Regions from separate parts of the Homo sapiens genome. Here region 1 is linked to region 2. The links are contacts of gene promoters, found by promoter capture Hi-C in blood cells and fetal thymus (Javierre and others, 2016). All regions are on one chromosome and are shown on one strand. Each heading gives the region's core, a stretch centred on a gene start or on the middle of the fragment in contact. The rest is flanking DNA. Distances are from core to core; before and after follow the strand shown. Region 1 overlaps HPN-AS1 (HPN antisense RNA 1). Region 2 holds the start of HAUS5 (HAUS augmin like complex subunit 5).

Region 1 (6,184 bases), core at 3,282-5,781, 530 kb before region 2:
CTCTTGCTGCTGTAACAAATTGCAACAAACTCAGCAGCTTAAAATAACACTTTTTTTTTTTTTTTTTGAGACAGGATCTCGCTCTGTCACCCAGGCTGCAGTGCAGTGGTGCAATCATGGCTCACTGCAGCCTCCAACTCCTGGCTCAAGTGCTCTTTCTGCCTCAGCCTCCTGAGTAGCTGGGACTACAAGCATGCACCACCACACCTGGCTATTTTTAAAACTTTTTTTGTAGAGACAGAGTCTTGCTATGTTGCCCAGGCAGTTCTCAAACTCTTAGTGTCAAGCGATCCTCCTGCTCAGCCTCCCAAGGTGCTGGGACTACAGGTGTGAGCCACTGCACCCAGCTAATTTTTATTTATTTATTTATTTATTTTGAGATGGAGTCTCACTCTGTTGCCCAGGCTGGAGTGCAATGGCGCGACCTCAGCTCACTGCAACCTCCACCCCCTGGGTTCAAGCAATTCTCCTGCCTCAGCCTCCCAAGTAGCTGAGACTACAGGCACCTGCCACCACAGCTGGCTAATTTTTTGTATTTTCAGTAGAGATGGGGTTTCACCATGTTAGCCAGATGGTCTTGATCTCCTGACCTCATGACCTGCCCACCTTGGCCTCCCAAAGTGCTAGGATTACAGGCATGAGCCACCCCTCCCGGCCCAACTCCAGCTAATTTTTTGAAAATGTTTTGTACAGATGGGGTCTTGCTATGTCAAATTTTTTCTTACAATTCCAACACAGTTCTCGCTGGCCTAAAAATCAACGTGTCTGCAGGAGTGCATTTCTTTCTGGAGGCTCTAGGGGAGAACTGTTTCCTTAATTATTTAAATTGTTGGCTGAATTCAGTTTCTGATGGCTATAGGACTGAGGGCCCTGTCTCTCTGCTGGCTGTAACCTGAGGGTTGGTGTCTACTTCTAGAGGCCACCCACATTCCTTGGCTCATGGCCCCTTCCATCATTTTCAAGGCCACTAACAGCAGGTCAAGTCCCCATTATGCTTCGAAATCCCCTGCCTCTTTCTGATGGACTCTCTGGCCTCTGTCTCCCACTTTTAAGAGCCCACGTGATTACACTGAGCCCAGCCAGATAATCCAGGTTAATCTCTCCCTTCCCAAGGTCTAGAACCTTAATCACATCTGCAAAGTCCATTTTGCCATGTAACGTATCACAGGATACAGCGATTAGACTGTGGACATCTTTGAGGGGCTGTTCTTCAGCTGACCACACCAATATATGCATACACAGCACACAAAGTGTCACCAAATAGGAAAATGCACTCAATACTTTGCATTACATTCTTTTCTATTCTATTTCATTTTTCAAAGCAGGGAATTATCCCACTGATCTGTATAGCATTGAGATTGAGAACACAGATCCCAAAGTCAGCCTGCCTTGGTTAGGATGCCAGTACCACCACTTTCAGCTGTGTGCTCTTGGGGACGTCACTTAACCTCTCCGTGCCTCAGTTTCCCCTTTAACAAGAGAAAGAATGGTGAAAATAACACTTCTCTTGTGGGGTTGTTGTGAGAGCCAAACAAATAAACAGTAGCTGGCAATATAGTGAATATAGTGAATGCTCTACAAGTATTAGCTGTCACTATGAAATTGATTTTTTTTTTGAGGGGGGATGGAGCCTCACTCTGTCACCCAGACTGGAGCACAGTGGTGTAATCTCGGCTCACTGCAAAATTCACCTCCCGAGTTCAAGCAATTCTCATGCCTTAGACTCCCAAGTGTCTGGGAGTACAGGAGCATGCCACCATGCCCAGCTAATTTCTGTATTTTCAATAGAGATGGGATTTTGCCATGTTGGCCAGGCTGGTCTTGAACTCCTGACTTCAAGTGATCCACCTGCCTCTGCCTCCCAAAGTGCTGGTGAGCCACCGTGCCCAGCCTGAAATTGACTTTTAACCTGTGTTAACATCACTCTGTCCTGAGATCAAAACCACAGGGCTCTGCTGTTGGCAGGTCTTGTCCCAGAGTCTGGGTCAGCCTGTCCTGGGGAGGGCCTGGGATCAGCCCGGCCCACACCCTCTCCAGTCCAGCAGGCAGCTGAGATGGGTCCTGAGCCATCTTTTTATCCCTTTGGTGTGAATGGGACAACGCGACCATTTCACAGATGAAGAGCAGACACAGAGCCGCACAGCTGGGGAGTGGCAGGGAGGGGTCCCCCTGGGCCTGATCTTGCCCTGGGTGATGCAGGGGCCAGGGCAGGACTGAGAAGTGCCGGGTCTCTGACCTCGTAGGGCCCACACGCTGCCAGGGTGGCCGAGTCTGTGGTGGGGCAGCCACGGCAGAGTGATCAGGGCTCACATGAGGGAAGCGTAGGGCCACAGGGGAGCACAGAGGAGGGGCTGGCCCAGCCTGGAAAGTCAGGCCAAGTTTCCCAGAGGAAGGGCCACGAGAGCTGAGGCTTGAATGACAAGTCAAAGCCAATAGGTAAGCAAGGAGAAGCCAAATGTTCTAGGGAGAAGGAACAAGGTTTTCAGAAGCCCAGAGACTGTGTAAATTTGAGCCAGAGATGGGGGAGCCTGGAGAGAGACATGGTCCTGGGCTGTGTCTGTGGGGCCTTGAATGGCAGGCAAGAAGTGAGGACTTTATCCCGAAGGACTGGGCCTCTAACCTCCAGGACCCCAAGGCGCAACTCCTTTTCTCTGCCCCTAGTCCCTCACTCCTCTCAGAGCAGGAAGCAAGTTCAGCATCTTGCAAACAAAACCTCTCTTTGTCCAAAGGAAACAGCCCATTGCAAGCTCCGAAGGCCAACACAAGGGACTGGTGGTGGGTGCTCTGGCCTCTGGCCTGCCTGGCCCACCCCTCCTCCCAAAGCCAGAGACAAGCCCCGGGGGCATCACACACTTTGACTAAGGTTAACTGAACACCCACTAAGTGCTAGGCAGCATTCTAGGCGCTGCAGACACAGCAGTGACCCAAACAGACAAAACCTTGCCCTCATGGAGGCGACATTCCAGTGGAGAAGACAATCAGTCAACCCAGCCAGTAAGTAGGTGATTAAACAGTAAGTCAGGCGGGGCAGGGCTGGGGAGTGCTGGAGAAGGGGCATGCAGTATTAAACTGGGGGGTTAGGGTTCCCTGGGGTGCAGAGAGGTGCCCTGGGAGTGGAGACTGAAGGTGGTGGAAAAGGGAGCCGAGCTGGCTGGGGGAGCGGGGAGGCGGGGGGACATTCCAGGCAGCAGGAATCCAGGAAACCCATCCAGGAAGGGTGCAGGTGTCTCCTCCAGCCCCCAGACTCTGGGTGCTCAAATTAAGATGAACTTTGAGCTGGAATATCTCCCACATCCCACCCAGGACATTTCTCCTTTTCTGACTTTCTTTATTAATCCTGAGACTGGGGGACACCCCCACTCCGCCAGCGCACACACACACACACACACACACACACACACAAAACCCTCCCCAGCAATCTCTCCTCCAGTATGTTTTTCCCCTGATCTGTGAAACCCCCAAAGACAAGGGTTAGGGATGGGGTCTCTCTTGGTCACCAGTGTGTCACCAGAACCTACCATAAGGCATTTAAAAGCATAGGTTAGGGCTGGGCACAGTGGCTCACACCTGTAATTCCAGTACTTTGGGAGGCCGAGGTGGGTGGATCACTTGAGGTCAGGAGTTCAAGACCAGCCTGACCAACATGGTGAAACCTTGTCTCTACTGAAAATACAAAAAAAAAAAAAAAAAATTAGCTGGGTGTGGTGGTGTGCACTGGCTGAGGCGGGAGGATCGCTTGAACCCAGGTGGAGGTGGAGGCTGCAGTCAGCCAAGATGGTGCCACTGCACTTCAGCCTGGGTGACAGAGCAAGACTCTGTCTCAAAAACATAAAAAAAATGAAAAAGCATAGGTCAGATCTCATCAGATTCCTGATTAAAAGCATCCCTGGGTCCCCCTTACCTCTGGGATGAAAACTGACCTCCAAGCCTCCTCCTAAGAGGCCCCCACAGCGGCCTCTCTCTGCTCACCCTGCCTCCTCCTACACTGGCTTTGTCTAGCTCACTCCACACCGAGGGTCCAGCCACACTGGCCTCTCTGCTGTCCCTGGACCACGCCAAATGCCTTCCCACCCCTGGGTCTTTGCATCTGCTGTTCCCCCGGCCTGGAATGCTCTTTCCCAGACGTACACACGGCTGGCTCCTTCCATCATTCAGGCCTCAGCTCCAATGTCACCTCTGCAGAGAGGCCTCCCTAGCCACTGTCCTCAAATCAGCCCATGGGGCTCAGCCACTCTGCGCTACCTAAAGCTGGGTAACACAGATCTAACCCAGTTTCTCAATCCAAAATTATCTTTTATTTATTGCTAGTTTGTCGCCCATTTCCCCCCTCTAGAATAGGCCAGCACACTTTTATGATAAAAGGCCAGATAATAAATATTTTAGGCTTTCAGGGCCACACTCTGCCACAACTACTCAAAGCTTCTGTTGTAACATAAGAACAGTCATAGACAATACACGAACCGGCGAGCTGGCTTTCATGAAGACATTATTTATAGACACCGGAATTTGAATTTTACATGATTTTCACACCTCACAAAATTTCCTCTTTTGGTTTCTTTTTTTCTAACCACTTAAACATGTAAAGACTATTTAGATTGTAGGCTGTGCCAAAACAGGTGGAGGGCCAGATTTGGGCCCAAGGGTGAAGCTTGTCAACGTCTGCCCTAGAACATCTGTTTTATGAGGTCAGGGATCTCTGTCTTGGTCATTGCTGTGTCCCCAGGCCCTGGGATGTTCCCGGCATGTAGTGGATGCCAAAGTTGAACAAATATGTGCTATAGAAAAGGCTTCGACACATTCATTAATTCTTCCAACAAATATCCATTGAGGTTTGCCGTGAGCTGGGCTCTGGGGAGATAGCAGGGAACATAATTTGAACGTGGGGCAGTGAGTTGACATCCTTGCATTGAATGACTTGTGTTCCTCCAGAGCTGACCTGGCCCCCCGACAGCCACTACGAGCTGTGTGGCTTCTCCTGTCCCAGCTCCTGCACCGAGCCTGCCCTGCCCGACAGCTGTCTGACACCATGCCAGGATGGCTGCCAGTGTGACCCAGGATTTGTGCTCAGTGGCACGGACTGCTTGACCCCCATCCAGTGCAGCTGCTCCATGGGGGGCAGATACCACCTGGCCGGGGAGCCATTCTGGGCTAGGGAGCACTGTGAGCAATTCTGCCACTGCGAGGCTTCCACCCATGCTGTGTGCTGCTCCCCCTCCTCCTGTGGGCCAGGGCAGAGATGTGGGACCCTAAGGGGCATCTTTGGGTGCCACCCATTCTCCCCTGGCACCTGCCAAGCAGCCGGGCACTCACACATCATCACCTTTGATGGGAAAACTGTTGAGTTCTCAGGTACCTGTGTGTCCGTCTTTGCCGAATCCTGTGGCTCTTCCGGCTCACTGCCATTCTTCAGGATACAGCTGTGAAAGGAGAACAGATCCAGCAGCCCCCTCATGCTCATCTTGGAGGTGTCTGTCCAGGTTAATGGGACCCAGGTCCACCTGCGGAGGGACAGCCCAGGCATGGCTCAGATAAGCACCAGCTTTGGGACGTGTCGTTTCTAGGAACCCCAACCCTTCACCCAAACCCATAGGCCCAAGGGAAAAACTTATTCTGTCTCCATTATTTCTACATTTTACCTCTATTTTCTGATTATATGCCCATTTTTGACTATATCCATCAGATGCATTCAGCTAATATAACAGAAACACTCTCAGACCAGCTTAAGAAAAAAAAGAATTACTGATTTACACAATTGAAAAAAAAAATCTACAGGTGTATGGATTCAGGCATAGCTGGACCCAGGTGCTTGAACAATATGTCTCAAATCTGTCTCAATTTCTGGGCTCTCCTTTCCTTCATTTTCAGACAGGCACCATCCCATCCCACCTTGTAGGGACAAGGACAGCTGCCAGGTTAGCAAATGTCACTGGAGGAAAAGTGTCCCTCACTGGCCCAGCTTGAGTCATGTGACCACCCCTGAATCCCTGATGGACTAGCTGATTGGCTGGGCCTGGGTCATGTGCTGGAAGTTAGGATAGGATTGACTTTCTGTGAACCACATGGATTGATTTTGGAGGGGTGAGTTCTCAGGGAAATCCAGAGAAAGGAGAAATGAATGCAGAACAGGATAAAACAAGAGATGGTCACTATTATAGTTATGTCCTTGTTCCTTCATCTAAAAATG
Region 2 (6,753 bases), core at 1,764-4,263:
CCTGGGGGTGCAGGCCATCCATTGTCCTTTGGTGGTGTCTCAGTCCAAAGGCAATTGTGACCAAATCACAGGGACAGATCAAGTCTTCTCAAAGCAGAGACTGGTGAAACTTTCCAAATCATGGCGGTAGGGCACGCCTTGCATGTTACTGAGAACTTCCTCCTCTCTCTTGACTTTGCAGTCTGAGACCCGGTCATATCTACATGTGTGTTTGGGGCAGGATGGGCAGAGACATAGCAGGAAAGGAAGTCACAGGGGTGTGTCCTACCCCAGCCAGGAAGCAGGCAGCAGGGACCGCTGTGGGGCATGCCTGGAGGTTCTTCACCATCTGCTGAGCACCAGCATAACAATGGGACATTGGGACTGTCCACCTGCACTGTGCTGTTACCACTAACCAGACAACTGGCTTTCGTGGGATTCACCCTGGGTCCCTGGGGCAGAAAGCACCCTAAGTGCTCAGGGCCTTCCTCTGAAGGGGTCACTTTTTCCTTCATTGTCTTGGGTGATGTAACAAGCTGTGCCAGACTGGAGGAAGTGAGACCAGGTGCCTGCAGTGAGCTACTGAGACGCAGGTGACAGTCACAGCAGTTGCATTATCAGGGAGTTTCCTATGGTCATCTGAACTTCGAGGGAGGTTTTCTGGGGCCGGGCATTCCTTCCTCATTCCCATTTACCTAAATTGGCCCATCCTTGTCTGGTAGGTCAGCACCCAGCAGAGGCTTCTCCCCATGCACAGCACTGTGAGGTTCAGGCACCTGGGCACAGTAACCACAGTGATTCCTGGAAGCTGGTGGGCATGCTATCCTGGGGCCATCTGAACTGGGAAAAGCTGTGTGAGTTCTTGGGGGCCAGCTTGTAGCCTTTTTGGCTGGGGCCAGGTTGAAGGTCTTCCTGGGAACCAGAGTCAAGAGCGGCCACTTACATTAAGCGGATAAAGCCCACGACTTTCTTGAGCTGCTTGACAGCTGTACCAAAAAGGCACAAACCCATTGAGGATATTATGAAACATGAATACAGATGATTATTTTATTTTGGTTTGGTTTTGTTTTGGCTTTGAGACAGGGTCACCCAGGCTGGAGTGCAGTGGTGCCATCATAGCTCACTGAAGCCTCAACCTCCCAGGCTCAACTGATCCTCCTGTTTCAACCCCCCAAGTAGATGGGACTACAAGCGTGCACCACCACGCCTGGCTAATTTTTTTTAATTTTTAATAGAGACAAGGTTTTGCTGTGGTGCCCAGGTGGGTCTCAAATTCCTAGCCTCAAACATTCCTCCCACCTCAACCGCCCGAAGTGCTGGGATTACAGGCATGAGCCACCACGCCCAGCCATTGCCTTATAATTTTTTACTGATGTCAGATATTGTTAATTTTACAGTGTTGGATGCTGGATTTTTTTTAATCTCTATAAATATTCTTGAATTTTGTTCTGGAATGCAGCTAAATAATAGCTTGATCCTTTCGGGCCTTGCTTTTAAGCATGGTTGGTTAGTCAGCATCAGAGAAGTATTTCATCTAGGGCAGGGGCAGGGGTCTCCAAACCCCAAGCCGTGAACCAATACAAGTCCATGGCCTGTTAGAAACCAGGCTGCACAGCAGGAGGTGAGTGGCGTATGGGTGAGCATCACTGCCTGAGCTCCACCTCCTGCCAGATCAGGAGCGGCATTAGATTCTTACAGGAGCGCAAACCCTATTGTGAACTGTGCATACGAAGGATCTAGATTGCGCACTCCTTATGAGAATCTAATGCTTAGGCGGGGCATGGTGGCTCACACCTGTAATGCTAGCACTTTGGGAGGCTGAGATGGGCTGATCACTTAAGGTCAGGAGTTCAAGACCAGCCTGGCCAACATGGTGAAACCCCGTCTCTACTAAAAATACAAAAATTAGCTGGGCATGGTAGCGGGCGCCTGTAATCCCAGCTACTCAGGAGGCTGAGGCAGTAGAATCGCTTGAACCCCGGAGGCAAAGATTGCGCTGAGCCGAGATCGGGCCACTGCACTCCAGCCTGGGTGAAAGAGGGAGACTTCACCTCAAAAAAAAAAACAGGGAAGAAAAAAAAAAAGAGAGAGAGAGACAGAGAATATAATGCCTCACGACCTGAAGTGGAACAGTTTCATCCCGAAACCATCCACTGCTCCCACCCTCCATCCCCCAGACTGTGGAAAAATTGTCTTCCATGAAACCAGTCCCTGATGCTCAAAAGGTTGGGGACTGCTGGTCTAGCGCAGACCTCTCACACCTGCTGTGTCCCAAATTGACCCACCCCTGCTGCTTATTTTTACCACCCCTACCTGGTGGTGCGTCTGTCTCCCCACTCAACTGTGAGCTCCGTACAATAGGGACCAGGGCTGTTGTGGTCACCATGGTGTCCCCAGCATCACCCAGCACAGGGTCAGCTCCCTGAGTTTATGGAATGGTAAGCACGAATGAATGGGAAAACGCATGCCAGGGAAATGTTAGGGTCATGCTCTCTGCCCCTACCCTCCACTCAGACATGAGACACCTGTTTCTGAAATCAAAGAGCAGTAAGTCCAGGATCTCATTGCCTGGTTCCAGTCCTCCTAGGACGCAAGTCCCATTTTGTCAAGAAAATAAAGGGGGTGAGCGTGGTGGCTCACGCCTGTAATCCCAACATTTTGGGAGGCCGAGGCGGGAGGATCGCTTGAGCCCAGGAGTTCAAGAGCCCAGAAGCTGAGACTAGCCTGGGCAACAAGTGAGATCCCATCTCTATTAAAATAAAAGTGTTTAGTTAAAAGAAGAAAAAGAAAATAAATGGAAGCATCAAGGACTGTTTTGCCTCTTTCGGGTTAGCTGGTAGTGAGCGGGAGAACGAGGGAAGGCGGGCGGGGCTGCAGTCTCTCCACGCCCTTTTCATTTCCACTCAAGGAGACCTACCTGGGAAGAGTGAGCGCTGCAAGACCCAGCCTGACCGCGCTAAGATTACTATGCAGCGCCCGAGCCCGCTGTCTGCCCGGCAACCGATGACGTCACTGTTGGCGCGCCCGTGACGTCAGAGGCGGGCGCCACACTTGAAGAGGCTGAGGGAGGCGGTGTCGCCGCCGCGGCGCTGTCATGGAGCTAGCGCAGGAAGCGCGGGAACTGGGTTGCTGGGCGGTCGAAGAGATGGGGGTGCCCGTGGCGGCCCGGGCCCCGGAATCGACGCTGCGCAGGTGAGGACCGCTCCTGGAGTGAGGACACCCCACCCTGGAGATTGAGTCTCCGGGAGTGAGAACTCCACCCCTCATTGAGGACTCGACTCCCCCCAATTCCCCATCGAGAGTGACCCGACTTACTGAGGGCTCCCTACCCTGGGAGGCTCCCCAGAGTGAGGTCCCTAGCACTGGTGAGGATCCTCCACGAGTTAGCTAAGACCTCGCTCCTTATGGAAATAGGATCTCCAGAGTGAGGCTGTCCCCGCAGCACCTCCCCTCCCTCCCTTAACCTAACCAAGAAGGACACTCAGGAGTTAGCCGTGGCCACCCCATCGGGGATTGAAGCTGTAGGAGTGATGCCCCACGTCTGGTCATGAGATGGCACTTCCTGGCAGTACATCCCCCACCTCCACCTCTGGATGTGACTGGGATAACCCACTCCCAGGAGAAAGGGAGCACCCGCCTCTCCCGCGCTCCCCCACCACCCGCCTTCCCAGGGAATGAGAATAACACCACACTTAGTGCAAACATCCAGTCCCTACAAAAAAAATGTTTTACCAATTAGCCGGGTGTAGTGGTGCCTGCCTGTAGTCCTAGCTACTCTGGAGGCTGAGGTGGGAGGATCGCATGAGCCCAGGAGGTTGAGGCTGCAAGGAGCTATGATCGTACCACTGCGACAGAGCGAGACTGTCTCTTAAAAAAAAAAAAAAAAAAAAGGCAAAAAAAAGTTTGGGCCTTCCCTCCTCAAGAAGTGAGAACTCCCTAGTAAAAACTCCCTACCACCATCACCCTAGGAATGAGGATCCCACACCCTGTGTGCTGCCCCAGGCATATGCTTACACACTGTCCCCACAGGCTGTGTCTGGGCCAGGGGGCTGACATCTGGGCCTACATCTTGCAGCATGTGCACAGTCAGAGGTAAGCTGGGCTAGAGCAGGGGAGGGGGCACAGGTGAGGCCCATAGTAACTCCTCTTTCTGCCTCTGCACTGTAGGACTGTCAAGAAGATCCGGGGAAACCTACTCTGGTAACTGCTTCTTAAAGCTATCCCCTCCTGTCTTCCCCACTCCCATTTAGCCCTGTCCCCACCACAGCATCACACCTATTGCCCTCCCCCCTAGAAGCCCCACTCATCCGCTGACTCTGGCCTCGTTTTCCTAGGTATGGCCACCAGGACAGTCCACAGGTGAGAAGCATATGCTACAAGATTCTCTTTCATCCGAAAAATGACTTGTAGATCTTCTGCTCTAAGCCCAACCAGGTGCTGGGTGATGCTGGGGACAATGGGTCACAAGACAGCCTTGATCTCCATCCTCATAGGGCTTAAAGTCCAGTGGAAACAGCATTAGCTCAGCCAGGTGCAGTGGCTCACACCTGTAATCCCAGCACTTTGGGAGGCTCACCTGAGGCCTCATCTCAGGTGATGAGATCACCTGAGGGCTCCAGGAAGCGATCAGTACTGGGACAAAGATGTGGTTTGGGAGGCGGATCACCTGAGGTCAGGAGTTCGAGACCAGCCTGGCCAACACGGTGAAGCCCTGTCTCTAATAAAAATAAAAAATTAGCCAGGCGTGGTGGCACACGCCTGTAATCCTAGCTACTTGGGAGGCTGAGGCAGGAGAATCGCTTGAACCTGGGAGGCAGAGGTTGCAGTGAGCTGAGATCGCACTACTGCACTCCAGCCTGGGCAATAGAGCGAGACTCTATCTCAAAAAAAGAAAAAATAAATAAAGAGCATTAATTAGCTGGGCGCAGAGAGGTGGGACCTGGATATGTGGCATCAAAGCTGGTGAGAAGAGATGATGGGACAGGTATGGGAGAGATGCTGAGGCCAGTGTGGGACCCAATGGGTGCAAGGGGCTCATATGACACCTAAGGGGAGGCTTCCAGGAGGCCTTGGGACTTCTAGGTGCAGGGCTCCGGGAAGAGATCAGTACTGGGACAAAGATGTGGTTGTCACCAGCACAGACAGGAAACAGGCTGGAAGTGTGGGTAAGACAATCCTAGGAGGAAGGAGGGAGGGAGCCAATACCCTAATGCTTCTGTGTCAGACACAGAAACTGCTGAGCAAAAACCCTCTGCCACCAGTTGAGGAGCCTGGTACCCCCAAAAGACAGGCCAGGCTGAGCCCCGATCAGACCATCTGACCCTGAATCTGATCCTCCCAGGTCCGTCGGAAGTTAGAGCTGGAAGCTGCTGTGACCCGCCTGCGGGCAGAAATCCAGGAACTCGACCAGAGCCTGGAGCTGATGGAGCGAGACACTGAGGCTCAGGGTGAGCCATGGGGCCAGAAGATGGGCACCAGAATGTGGGGCGGGAAAGGTGCTGATGGCCACCCCTGTTCCTCCCACAGACACGGCCATGGAGCAGGCACGTCAGCACACTCAAGACACCCAGCGTCGAGCTCTCCTCCTCCGGGCCCAAGCTGGGGCCATGCGAAGACAGCAGCATACGCTCCGAGATCCCATGCAGCGGCTGCAGAATCAACTGAGGCGCCTGCAGGACATGGAGAGGTGGGCCTCAGGGACCCACCCTCACCAGGCTGGGTGGCCAGACATTCTCTTAGAGACCTCAGGGCTCTGCCCTGATCCCTTCTTGGGTTCCAGAATTCTGGAACCATTAGGATGGAATGTCCATGAGGCCAGGAGGTTTTGTCATCTCAGTCACCTGTATTTTCAGTGCCTAGAATGATACCACCTGTATACCTAGAACACCAGCCCTGGGGAAACAGCCACAAACAGAGAACATGTCCCTGCCCTCCTGGAGCTTATGCTGTGACACAGAGAAGACAGATAGTAAAGTAGGAACCAAACAGACCCTATCATTTCTGGTAGAGATGAGTGCTGTGAAGAAAAGCCTATCATAGAAGGGAGAGGGAGATGCTGCCCTAGCGAGGGTGGTCAGCGAAGGCCTCTGAGGAGGGGACATTGAGTTGGAAGAGGAATTTCTGTGGAGAAGGAATAGCAAGAGCAGAGGTGGTGTGCTCAGCATGCAGGAAGAGCAGCCCGGAGGCCAATGTCAGCTCAAGTTTCTCAGGCAAGACCGAGAACCTGAGGAGGTGAGGTCGAAGGAGTGGACAGAGAACTGTGGATGATGTGTTGCGATTTTACCCTGACACTGGTTCATGCCCTGGCTTGGCCACTTAAAATTGGGTGACCTAAGGCTGGGCATGGTGGCTCACACCTGTAATCCCAGCACTTTGGGAGGCCGAGGCAGGCGGATTACTTGAGGTCAGGAGTTCGAAACCAGCCTGGCCAACATAGTGAAACCCCGTCCCTACTAAAAAATACAAAAATTAGTCGAGTGTGGTGGCACGTGCCTGTAGTCCCAGCTACTCAGGAAGCTGAGGCAGGAGAATCACTTGAACCCAGGAAAAGGAGGTTGCAGTGAGCCTGGATTGCACCACTGCACTCCAGCCTGGGTGACAAGAGCAAAACTCTGTTTAAAAAAAAAAAAATTGGGTGACCTTGGGCAAGGTATTTAACTTCTTTCTATGTGCCTCAGATTCTAAGATCTGTGGAATGGGGATAATATTAATACCAAGCTTATAGGGTAGGCATGATCGTTAGGTGGAATAAATCATGTGAAGTGCTTAGAGAAG

The links. The method cuts DNA at HindIII sites, captures the fragments that hold promoters and counts their contacts. A CHiCAGO score of 5 or more calls a contact.
Region 1: a fragment that was not itself captured here is called in contact with the fragment with the promoter of HAUS5 in region 2 in 2 of 17 cell types (M1 macrophages and total B cells); the score reaches 6.0 in M1 macrophages.

Annotation. Positions count from the first base shown.
Region 1 is chr19:35,081,603-35,087,786 of GRCh38, forward strand. HPN-AS1 (HPN antisense RNA 1) reads right to left here. Exons shown (of 4, transcript NR_024562.1): 3 at 5,354-5,498. It also overlaps the pseudogene LOC100420797. Among named protein-coding and RNA genes, the nearest start is that of HPN-AS1, 22 kb to the right of the region's middle. RefSeq lists enhancers at 2,516-3,330, 4,617-4,666, 4,777-4,886. The HindIII fragment of the contact is 229 bases long and covers 4,418-4,646 here.
Region 2 is chr19:35,609,722-35,616,474 of GRCh38, forward strand. It overlaps HAUS5 (HAUS augmin like complex subunit 5), which reads left to right and starts at 3,014. Exons shown (of 19, transcript NM_015302.2): 1 at 3,014-3,171; 2 at 4,009-4,071; 3 at 4,147-4,179; 4 at 4,314-4,338; 5 at 5,321-5,426; 6 at 5,506-5,665. The coding sequence starts at 3,074. It overlaps HAUS5-DT (HAUS5 divergent transcript), which reads right to left and starts at 2,943. Exons shown (of 2, transcript NR_186318.1): 1 at 2,897-2,943. RefSeq lists enhancers at 2,748-3,303, 2,892-3,151. The HindIII fragment of the contact is 7,658 bases long and covers 1-6,694 here.